3 separate regions of the Homo sapiens genome follow, and regions 2 and 3 are each linked to region 1. The links are contacts of gene promoters, found by promoter capture Hi-C in human tissues and cell types (Jung and others, 2019). All regions are on one chromosome and are shown on one strand. The core of a region is centred on a gene start or on the middle of the fragment in contact, and the rest is flanking DNA. Distances in the headings are between cores, read along the strand shown.

Evidence for each region. The method cuts DNA at HindIII sites, captures the fragments that hold promoters and counts their contacts. A contact is called where the count stands out against the background at its distance.
Region 2: a fragment that was not itself captured here is called in contact with the fragment with the promoter of TFF2 in region 1 in 2 of the 25 tissues and cell types used here (mesenchymal stem cells and spleen).
Region 3: a fragment that was not itself captured here is called in contact with the fragment with the promoter of TFF2 in region 1 in 2 of the 25 tissues and cell types used here (lymphoblastoid cells and mesenchymal stem cells).

Annotation. Positions count from the first base shown.
Region 1 is chr21:42,349,109-42,353,061 of GRCh38, forward strand. TFF2 (trefoil factor 2) reads right to left here and starts at 1,886. Exons shown (of 4, transcript NM_005423.5): 1 at 1,771-1,886; 2 at 773-922. The coding sequence starts at 1,849. It overlaps LOC105372815 (a long non-coding RNA gene), which reads left to right and starts at 3,185. Exons shown (of 3, transcript XR_937755.3): 1 at 3,185-3,953. The HindIII fragment of the contact is 10,226 bases long and covers 1-3,953 here.
Region 2 is chr21:42,390,178-42,392,972 of GRCh38, forward strand. All of the region lies in intron 2 of TMPRSS3 (transmembrane serine protease 3), which reads right to left. Among named protein-coding and RNA genes, the nearest start is that of TMPRSS3, 4.5 kb to the right of the region's middle. The HindIII fragment of the contact is 6,154 bases long and covers 1-2,795 here.
Region 3 is chr21:42,303,220-42,307,172 of GRCh38, forward strand. No RefSeq gene overlaps it. Among named protein-coding and RNA genes, the nearest start is that of TFF3, 10 kb to the right of the region's middle. RefSeq lists an enhancer at 3,438-3,937. The HindIII fragment of the contact is 3,935 bases long and covers 1-3,748 here.

The DNA.
Region 1 (3,953 bases), core at 636-3,135:
TAGCTCCGATTAACCAACCTGGGCTAGCCCTAGACTAACCAGCCTACGCTAGCCCTAGACTAACCAACCTGGGCTAGCTCCAGACTAACAAACCTAGGCTACTAGCCCCAGACTAACCAGCCTATGCTAGCCCTAGACTAACCAACTTGGGCTAGCTCCAGACTAACCAACCTAGGCTACTAGCCCCAGACTAATCAACCTGTGCTAGCTCCAAACTAACTAACCTGGGCTAGCCCTAGACTAACTAGCCTACACTAGCCCTAGACTAACCAACCTGGGCTAGCCCCAGACTAACCAACCTGGGCTACTAGCCCCAGACTAACCAACCTGGGCTAGCTCCAGACTAACCAACCTGGGCTAGCCCCAGACTAACCAGCCTACGCTAGCCCTAGACTAACCAACCTGGGCTAGCTCCAGGCTAACCAACCTGGGCTACTAGCCCCAGACTAACCAACCTGCGCTAGCTCCAAACTAACCAACCTGGGCTAGCCTTAGACTAACTAGCCTACACTAGCCCTAGACTAACCAACCTGGGCTAGCCCCAGACTAACCAACCTGGGCTAGCCCCAGACTAACCAACCTGGGCTAGCTCTAGACTAACCAACCTGGGCTAGCCCCAGACTAACCAACCGGGGCTAGCTCGAGACTAACCCACCCAGGCTAACCCTAGACTAGCAACTGGGCCTCCTCCGGCCCCTGCTCTGGGCTCCGCCTGTGAAGCTGGGTCCTGGGTTGCCAGCTGCTGGCCCAGGAAGATTCCCTGGAAGATTACCTTGCTTTGGGAGGGGGTGGAAACACCAGGGGACCCCAGTGACACTGGAGTCGAAACAGCATCCATTGTCAAAACACTGGTCACTGGTGATTCCAGGGAAGCCGCAGTTCGTCCTGTTATGGGGGCTCAGCCTGGAGCACTGGCAGGGGGCTGTGGAAAGACCCTCAGTCGGCCCCACCCTGGTACCCCAGACCACACTGCTCCTTCTCTCAGAGGTTCTAGGGGATGCCTCTACTGTCTTGTTGCCACATAGAGAAACACAAAGTCTTATCTTGCCCATATTTAAGCAATGCGGTTTCCTCCTGAGAAGCCGATAGGGCTTTGCTGAAATTGTTATATTAGTTTAAAAGGAAAAAAAAAAAAAAGCCAGGCATGGTGGCTCATACCTATAATCCCAGCACTTTAGGAAGCCGAGGCGGGCAGATTGCTTGAGCTCAGGAGTTCAAGACCATCCTGGGCAACATGTCGAAACCCCATCTCTACAAACAATACAAAAAAAAAAATTGGCCGGGCATGATGGTCCACAACTGTGGTTTCAGCTACTCAGGCGGCTGAGGTGGGAGGATCACTTGAGCCTGGGAGGCAGAGGTTGCAGTGAGCCAAGATCACACCACTGCACTCCTGCCTGGGCGGCAAAGCCAGATCCTGTCTCGGAAAAAAACAAAAACAAAACCCTCCTAGAGGAGGGTGAACAGATGGACCCAAGGCCAAGATCCAGGCGAGAGGTGAGTGCTCTGGGACTCCAAGGACCCTTGGTGGGAATGCCCTCCTGGCCCGACACGGGGCCCGCTGACACCTGCCGTCACTCAGCCTTTCCCTAGGAGGGAGGCCCTTCTTGGAGCCACCCTCCTGAGCAGTGGCAAATCCCATGTGAACAACACACATTGCCAGATGCCTTTATAGCCATTCCCCCTCTCAAGTTAATTTATGGTTGTGCTTTTTTTTTTTCTTTAAGAGAAATAAAGAAAGCACATAAAAAGACCCTCTCCTTCACTTACAGGGTTTCTCACTCCCCGCCAGGGCACATAGCCCCAGGACGAGGAGCGCTGCCAGGAGCTGGGCGTCTCGCCGTCCCATGTCTAGCTCAGCTGCACCCCAGGGTGGCTTGCAGAATGCATGGTGTCCACTGCCGGGTATGTTTTATAATCTCCCCTCTGTTTGTCCAACAAGCAGAGATAACCTTTCTTCTCTGCCCCGTGGCCCCAGCCCTTCCACCGTGGAGGCGAAGAGGAGGCAAGAGGCAGCTGTGCCCTGTGCAGGCGAGGCTTCCGGGCCAGGGTGACTCTCTCCCTGCTCGGTGATACCTCTTCCTGCCCTGGACAGAGAGTTGGGTCATGCCAGGCTGCCAGCGTGGAAAACCGGCCACGTGCAGGTCTGGGGCTGGGCACACACAGGGTCACACCCAGGAAGGGATAAGCTATGCATTTCTATTGATAGAGTGGGCAGGGACCACAGGAATTTAGAAAATATTAGGGCCAAGTTTACTGGGGAAAATGTACAGGCCAGCAGATAGCATGGAAAAGTCCCCTCCCTGAGGAAGGGAAGCATCTCAGAGGAGGTAAGAGACTGCTCCCAGGGCTGTGGTTAGAGCCTCCCCAACCGCAGCACGATGCCCTTTGTCCCATCTTCAGCAGGAGGGGCTGCTCTCCATGGAGATGAGGCTGACAGGGTCAGCGGAGTAGCCTGTGACAGGCAGGTTTTAATAAGTTCATTTTCAGCCAACCCCTGAAATGGGTTATTTTTGTTCCATGGGAATGCTCTACATCTTCTGAAAGATGGCACCTGGGACCCAGCCCATGGCCTTCCTGGGGTAGGATGTGCTGGAGAAGGATTCTGTGGACCTGACAGAGAAGACAGAAGCCAGAGAGTAGACACCCGGAAAGAAAGAGGGAAAAGTGTGGTGGGAAGGACAGAGGGGACCCGAAGTTCCCCACGCCAGGGAAATGACAGGGGGTTGCCAGTCTGTTTCTGATGGTTGAGCAGTCAGGGGCCCAGAGACGCAGGAAACCCAAAATCCTTGGTCCACCACGGGGCTGTCCTCAGGGTCTGGAGAGCAGGCCCCATACTCCAGGCCCCCATCCTCCAGGCCCTCGTCCCCCAGGCTCCATCCTCCAGGCCCCCATTCTCCAGGGCTCCATCCTCTAGGCCCCTGTCCTCCAGGCCCCCATCCTCTAGGCCCTCATCCTCCAGGCTCCATCCTCCAGGCTCCATCCTCCAGGTTTCATCCTTCAGGCCATCATCCTCCAGGCCCCCGTCCTCCAGGCCCCCATCCTCCAGGCCCCATCCTCCAGGCCCCCATCTTTCAGGCCCCTGTCCTCCAGGCTCTTGTCCTCCAGGCCCTCATCCTCCAGGCCCCTGCTCCTCCAGACCCTCATCCTCCAGACCCTCATCCTCCAGGCCCCCATCTTTCAGGCCCCTGTCCTCCAGGCCCTCTTCCTCCAGACCCTCGTCCTCCAGGCCCCTGTTCCTCCAGACCCTCGTCCTCCAGACCCTCATTCTCCAGGCCCCCGTCCTCCAGGCTCCATCCTCCAGGGCTCCTCTGGGTCCGGGTCAAGTACCTCCAGGCTCTCTGCTGACTGTTCACCACTGGGCAACCACAGGGACTCGATCCATGAAAACTCTGGCAAGGTCAGTTTCCTTGTTCTACATCCCTGTCACTTTAGTCACCATCATGATATAAGTGACTGAGTCATTGTTTTCTCTCATATTCCCACCCACCTCTCCTCTCTGCTTCCTCCCCATCAACTCGACTTCCCACCGCTCACTGCAGCCCCTTCAGGATTCCTGCTGCGACCACCTGACCCATGCAAAAGAGACCACTTCTCAGCCTCTCTCACTCTCCTGGCCCTGGCGGAAGCCTGTGTTGTCATAGGCATGCTTCCCTGGAATCCTGCTCAGGCCCCCACGCAGGGACACTGAGTGCCCACAGAGTTGGGAAACCATTACACGAGATGGGACGTCTGCAATAGAGTGGCATCGCTAGTTGAAAGTGGAGCTGTTCACAACCTCCACAACTGTACTTGGTGGCCACGTCCCCATCACATGGGCTCAGACTGGGGGCTGGACATTGACTTTGAGCCCCAAGTCTTCACCCTCATGCAAAAACCATCCTCCTTGGAGATGCAGGCTGGGAAGGGCGCCATGTCCGGAGTCCCTGCCCTGCTGTCATCTGCCGACCTTT
Region 2 (2,795 bases), core at 296-2,795, 41 kb after region 1:
AGGGCCACCCACCAAGGGGCACATTCTCTAGTTCAGTCCTACCTGCTCCACCTCTGACCCGGTTATTCCATGGGGGATGAGGGGATGTGCTATGGGTTGAATAGTATCCCCCAGAAAGACACGTTGAGGTCTTAACTCTTAGTACCTCAGAATGGCATCTTATTTGGAGATGGCCTGGAGAGTCTTTACAGAGTCATCTAGTTAAAATGAGTCATTAGGGTGGGCCCTAATCCAACGTGGCTGTTGCCCTTATAAAAAGGGGGAAAACAGCCGGGTGCAGTGGCTCACTCCTGTAATCCCAACATTTTGGGAAGCCAAAGCGGGTGGATCACCTGAAGTCAGGAGTTCAAGACAAGCCTGGCCAACATGGTGAAACCCCATCTCTATTAAAAATACAAAAATTAGCTGGGCATGATGGCAGGCACCTGTAATCCCAACTACTCAGGAGGCTGAGGCATGAGAATCGCTTGAACCTGGGAGGCAGAGGTGGCAGTGAGCTGAGATCGCACTGCTACACTCCAGCCTGGGCAACAAGAGCAAAACTCCGTCTCCAAAACACAAAAACAAAAAGGAGAAATCAGGACACAGGGACAAACATGCATGAAGGGAAGAGGATGGGAGGAGACACAGGCAGAAGCCAGCCTCATGAAGATGAAGGCAGAGATGGGAACAATGCATCTACACACCAAGAAATGCCAAAGATTATTGGCAAACCACCAGGAGCTAGGAAGAGGCAGGGCACGGTGCCCTATGGGTTTAAGAGGGAGTATGGCCTTGATGACACCTTGGAATTCAGACTTCTGGCCTCCAGAACTGAGACAATAAATTCCTGTTGTTTTAAGTCACCCAGTTTTGGGGACTTTGTTTCAGCAGCCCTATGACACTAAGATGGAGGGGAAGTAGCATCCCAACTTCCAAGGCTGTTTCCCTGCAGAGGAGGGGGTGAAACCCACACGGGGGGCTTGCAGGCAGAGGTAGTGCTGAGATCTCCCAGAGGAGATGCAAGGACAAGATGTTGATTTTTGTTTGTTTGTTTAAATTTTTTCTTATAGAGATGGGGATCTCACTATGTTGCTCAGGCTGATGTCAAACTCCTGGGCTCAAGTGATTCTCCCCACTTGGCTCTCCAAAGTACTGGGATTACAAGCGTGAGCCACCATGTCCAGCCGAGGACAGGATGTTGATACACCATTCTCCACAATTGCTGTGCACAGACACTGACAGCTTTCATTCCAGATCATCTCTTCAAGAATGTGTGTAGAGCAAACAGCCTTGGAAGATACAGATAGCGTCTCCCTCCAGAGCAAGAGGCAGGTTTGTTTACTGTCCAGTTTAACAAATATAATGCCTTCCTCCAGAGCAAAGTTTGCACAGGTCTGCTTGCAGACCACTGTAAAGATGAGGGTTCCCTTAACTCTGGGATATGCAGCAGCAATGCAAACTGCCTGCACGTGCGGCATACACAGGCTGCTCCACATGCCTCTGTGGGACTGAGAAGGCAAAGGCAGCCAGCACAAACAGGATATTTGTGCCCCTTGCTGCACTGTGAGGAATAGAGTCCTTTGTCTCTGACCCAGGACTCTCGTGTCTTCCAAAGCACCCATGAAACTGTGGCAGGCTAAATTTTGGCTTGCAAGTAGGGTGACATCTCAGGCCCTTTACAGTTCTTGCCCCTAGAACCAGGCAAATCTGGTGGAAACAATATGTAAGGAGTGTCCAGATGCCTGGCCAGAAGTATAAGCCTCTCTGGGCAGCAGGAGAATTCCCACTAGCACTCTTCCCTCCTGGGGAGAGCAGGCCATTTCACCTAAATTACCTCATCAATCCTAAAAATACATGAATGCCCAAGTTGTCTTTGTTAAAAATAAGGAAGATTGGAATCCAGAAAGGGGAGAGAAGCCTGCCCAGGGTCACACAATTGCCCAGGATGAGACTGGCACCTGCCTCTCTTCTCCTAGTCTTGGACATGTTGAGCCGAGAGCTCTGTCATGGAAGAGCTAAAAAGATCTTTCCCTGCCTGACCGTGGAGACTCACAACTTCTACCCTCTGGCAATAAGGAGTGTGATAATGAAATGATCAATATCAGTTGAGGCTGCCTAAGAAAGAAGAGAATTTGAAGACAAAAATGATGAAAAGACATGGAATGCGAGGAGAAAAGAGTGTGCAGAGGAGAGGGTGAGCAGGAGATGGAGGAAGAGCAGGGAAATAGAAGCTGCACTTCGCAGATGTGGAGGCTGTGAGGAACGCAGAGTGAGGGAGGATGAGAGACCGTGGCAAGTTCTGTGTTTTAGGCCTGGACAAGCTCAGTGGTTTGTTGAAGCTGCATTATCCATACCTAGAACAGCAGGGGACACACAGTAGTCCTTGATAAAAATGTGCTAGATGAATGAATGACATCATGATAATGAAGGCCGTTTTAACTCAGGGTCTGAGACCAAGTCCTTCCAGGACAGCCCATCTGCGGTGGTGAGCTGGCAGAAAGGATCCTCTCTCCACCCTCACACCTCGATCCCCCGCACACTAACAATTCTCCTCTATAAGGATGCCCACCCTTCGTCTTATACTTAGAAATCTGCAGGAACCCCAGGAATGACATCTTCACATTCCAGCTGCTCTGTATTTAAGTTGGATTTAGAAAATGACCCCAAATTGTCAAATCAAAGATTGACATTTAATCGAAAGGCTGTGTCAGTTCCCGTTTGCCCTGCTTCTCTGTCAGGCTGCCCTGAGGGCACTGCAGGGGCCCCACGCCTCCTCTGTGCTTGGTCCTTGAGGACATTGCCTGGAATAAACA
Region 3 (3,953 bases), core at 531-3,030, 46 kb before region 1:
CAGCAGCAGACATGTCCGTTTCTGGGGAAGTTACTCAAACAATCGTGCCTCTTAGGGGGCCCTAATGTGCCCCTTCTGGCAGGTTGAAATGCATCTGGCCTTGAAGGGGAAGGTTAGGAAATTATGAAGTACGTGGGTTTAGGGTTGACAACCCCATATCCGTGGACTCCTGGAGATCCCTGAACGCCGTCTAATCTGAATGGTACCACAATTTGGTTTGTCTGAAAATATAGTAGTAACCACGGCAGTGATTTCATTTTTACACGTTTGCATTTTTACATGTCTGTCATTATGCATCTTGGGGTCTCTTTTCCATGACCTACCAGCTTCCCAAGCTTAATAATCAGTATCTCACTATTATGTCATTGGCCAACTGAAAACAGTAGCAAAACATCCTATCATCCAAATTGCTAATAAAATAGAACACCACACCCACACGCTGGCTTCCCATTTTTATAGTCTTATCCTCCCACCTGGAGGGTGTGAATGGGGATCAGTTTTTCAATAGAACATGTATGTTTGGTAAGTTAATATGTGTAGCTGACCCCTTTGCCTTTGTTTTTATATATTTATGTTTTTCTATTGTAGACATATTGATGCAATACCTGTTCATAGTTGAATCTGTTACAAATTGTTACCTTTTATTTGATGAAGAACTATTTAAAGATTTTCCTTTTTTATTTCTTCTAAAGCAAAAGTCAATGCAAGTAACTCTAATCAGCGTGCAAAGGCGTGCATATATATCTGCTATGTAATTATATAATGTTTTTATAATGCTGTGTGGATAACTTTTCACTGATTTAGTTACTTGACTGTAGGAAACACTGTTGCTTTGCACGCTGTGAGAGGTTTGCACTGTTACAGATGAAGGCAACATATTTACATATGTACATGTATATACATATATATATATTCAAAAATAACATCGGCTCTTTGGGGTGTCTGTTTCCTTGGTTGTCTCACGCCACTGGAACATTGAACCCAGACAGACCCTAGGATGTGAGGTTCCTGACTGCACCTTACGGACCACAGAGCCACGTGTCTATTTCTGTAGACCTATCTCCTTAGATTTGTACATGCATTTTTTGCGGACTTGAACTTTGTTTTCTGAAATTAGATGCCATTTATGATGATGTGATGTCAATCAAATAAAGCATCATTATTTTCAGATTTCTGCTTCTCTTTCCTTTTGCTTTCAACAGCCCCAGCTCTCAGACCTGCTGGGGGAGTCGCGTCTGGTAGAGCATCTCGTATTTTCTCCCTACCTGCCCTTGCTCTCAATGGAGCACTTCTCTCTTCAGTGTCAGGATGGATTCCAGTGAGGAAGACAAATAAGAGTGATGGTAAGGAAGCCTGTAGCTCCAGACTCCATGGAGCACCATGTGGTGGCACAGTACCCTACCTTTCCATGCGCAATCTCATCAAACCGTCGTCATCAGAGCTGGAGAGCCGCAACTGGCCCCATTTTTCAGGTTAAAAACACCGAGGCTCAGGGATATTACACAACTTGCCAAAGCCACAGAGCTGGTCGGTGGTGCACGCAGAAGTGAGACCCTGGCCATCCAGGCAGGGCTCCTGGCCACTCCATGGCTCTCCCTTCCTCCGGGAGAGGCATTTAGGATTTGAGACCACACAGGAGGAGAATCCACGTTGTGCAGGAAGTGGTGTGGCAGGTCTGACCCTCATGACCAGTGGAAACTTCTCCTCCCAGACACTTGGCTGAGGGGTGAGATGATGTGCCAACATCTCCAGGGATCGGCCTGGAGGTCCTTGTGCTGTCAAGACCCCTTGTGAGTCAGCACTGGGGCCTGGGTCCAGATGTCATCTGGGATCATCACCTGGGACATGGCCCTACTGGGCCCTACTTGTAGGCGAGGAGGAAGGTGTGCATGTGTGGGTAGGAACGAGACAGTGCAAAAAGCCGCTGCCTGGTGACCTGGCATGCAGACTCGGCCCTCCCACTTGCACGGTGATCCACTGAAGACAACAGCTGCCTCTGTACTCACGCTCCCCCACACTCCCCTCCTTCCTGCCCTGGTTTCTCCATCCCTAGATGCCATCCCATGCCCCAAACCATCCGCCAAGCACAATAACCTCGCCCCCACCCACCCCATGAGGTCACTCGAGTTGACAACCAGATAACAGTTTTTGTTTTGTTTTGTTTTGTTTTGTTTTGTTTGTTTTTGAGACGGGGTCTCGCTCTGTTGCCCAGGCTGGAGTGCAATGACGTTATCTCGGCTCACCACAACCTCCGCCTCCCGGGTTCAAGAGATTCTTCTGCCTCAGCTGCCTGAGTAGCTGGGACTACAGGCGCGTGCCACCATTCTCAGCTAACTTTTGTATTTTTAGTAGAGACAGGGTTTCATTATATTGGCCAGGCTGGTCTCGAACTCCTGACCTCTTGATCCGCCCACCTCAGCCTCTCAAAGTGCAGGGATTACAGGCGTGAGCCACCGCGCCCAATAGCAATTTGATGACCCATCCCCTCCACTGCTGGGAAAAGGCTGGGCACCGCCCACACTCCATGCAGCTCTCTTTCCCTGGCTCGGAATCGCTGCAGGCGCCACAGACCAGACGCGCACTGTTCCCCACTCCTGCTTATCGGCCGCGCGGCATCCCCTTGTCGCAGCACTCCAGCATCCATGCAGCCGCGCGGCACCCCGTCTTCGGAGCACTCCAGAATCCATGCAGAGCGCAGCACCCCACATCCAGAGCGCTCCAGAATCCATGAAGCACGCGGCACCCCCTCGTCAGAGTGCTCCAGAATCCATGAAGTGCGCAGCACCCCTTAATCGGAGCGCTCTAGAACCCGTGCAGCGAGCAGCACCCCACACCCGGAGCGCTCCAGAATCCATGAAGCCAGCAGCACCCCACACCCGGAGTGCTCCAGAATCCACGCAGCACGTGGCATCTCCTCGTCATAGCGTTCTAGAATCCATGCAGCGAGCAGTACCCCACACCGGGAGCGCTCCAGAATCCACGCAGCGTCTGGCACATCTTTATCAGAGCGCTCCAGAGTCCATGCAGCCACAGTCCTCCAACGGACCCTGAGATTGTTTCTGCAAAAGGCCATGCCTTCATAAATCTGAAAATTTGGAAAACATCCTTCTACTTATATCCTTACAACCCACCATTCAAGCTGTAGAAGCCTTTCTGGAACCCCAAGCAGAAGGATATCCAAAATGTAAAAACGGTGGGGCCTGCAATCCCACGGAGCACCCCCCACTCTCACGGTGCCCAGGTCGTCCCACTCAGCACGGACATTCTGCCTCCAGCCCTGGGGCCTCCAGGTTATACCCAAAAGAGGTGACTCTTGGGGACGTAAGGTGCGTGGGGTGCCATGAACCCTCCCAAGGCTGCAGCCTCTTGGGCAAGGAGTCCACAGTGCTGTTGCCAGCCAAATTGGCTGCACCCCTGCACGAGGGGGCTGATCTTCCCCACACCACCACTGTGGCTGGCATCGCAGTAGGTACCACTTGTTAACAACCTCGTTCTACAGAGAGATGGTGAAGCCAGACGCAGGTAAACCTGTGGCAGGGCACTCTTCCTGAAGAACCAACAGATCCCCTCAGGCCCGCCCCGCTGTTTTATTTCCCTTCTCTGCCCTTTCCCCGGTGCAAGCAGCTGTTGGTCTGTGCTTCCTGCTGCTCTGCTCTGCAGATACTAACGAAGCCACAACCAGGGGGCCGGGTGGTCACAGCAGGGACCACAGCTGGGCAACCTATAATCTCTGTGACGCTGGGAGCTCTGGGACCTCATTTTTCCTAATGTCCCCATCTGTAAATAGCCAGGTTGCCATGTTGAGAGCAGGTGTCAGAGGGAAATGGGATCTCGCCACACTGCAGGACTGAGACAATTCCTCTGGTTGGTGAGGGCTGGGCCTAGGATGGGAGGCTCAGAGCAGTGAATGAATGGATGTGGTGTTGGATGCTTCCTCCAGGAGGCCTGCCCGC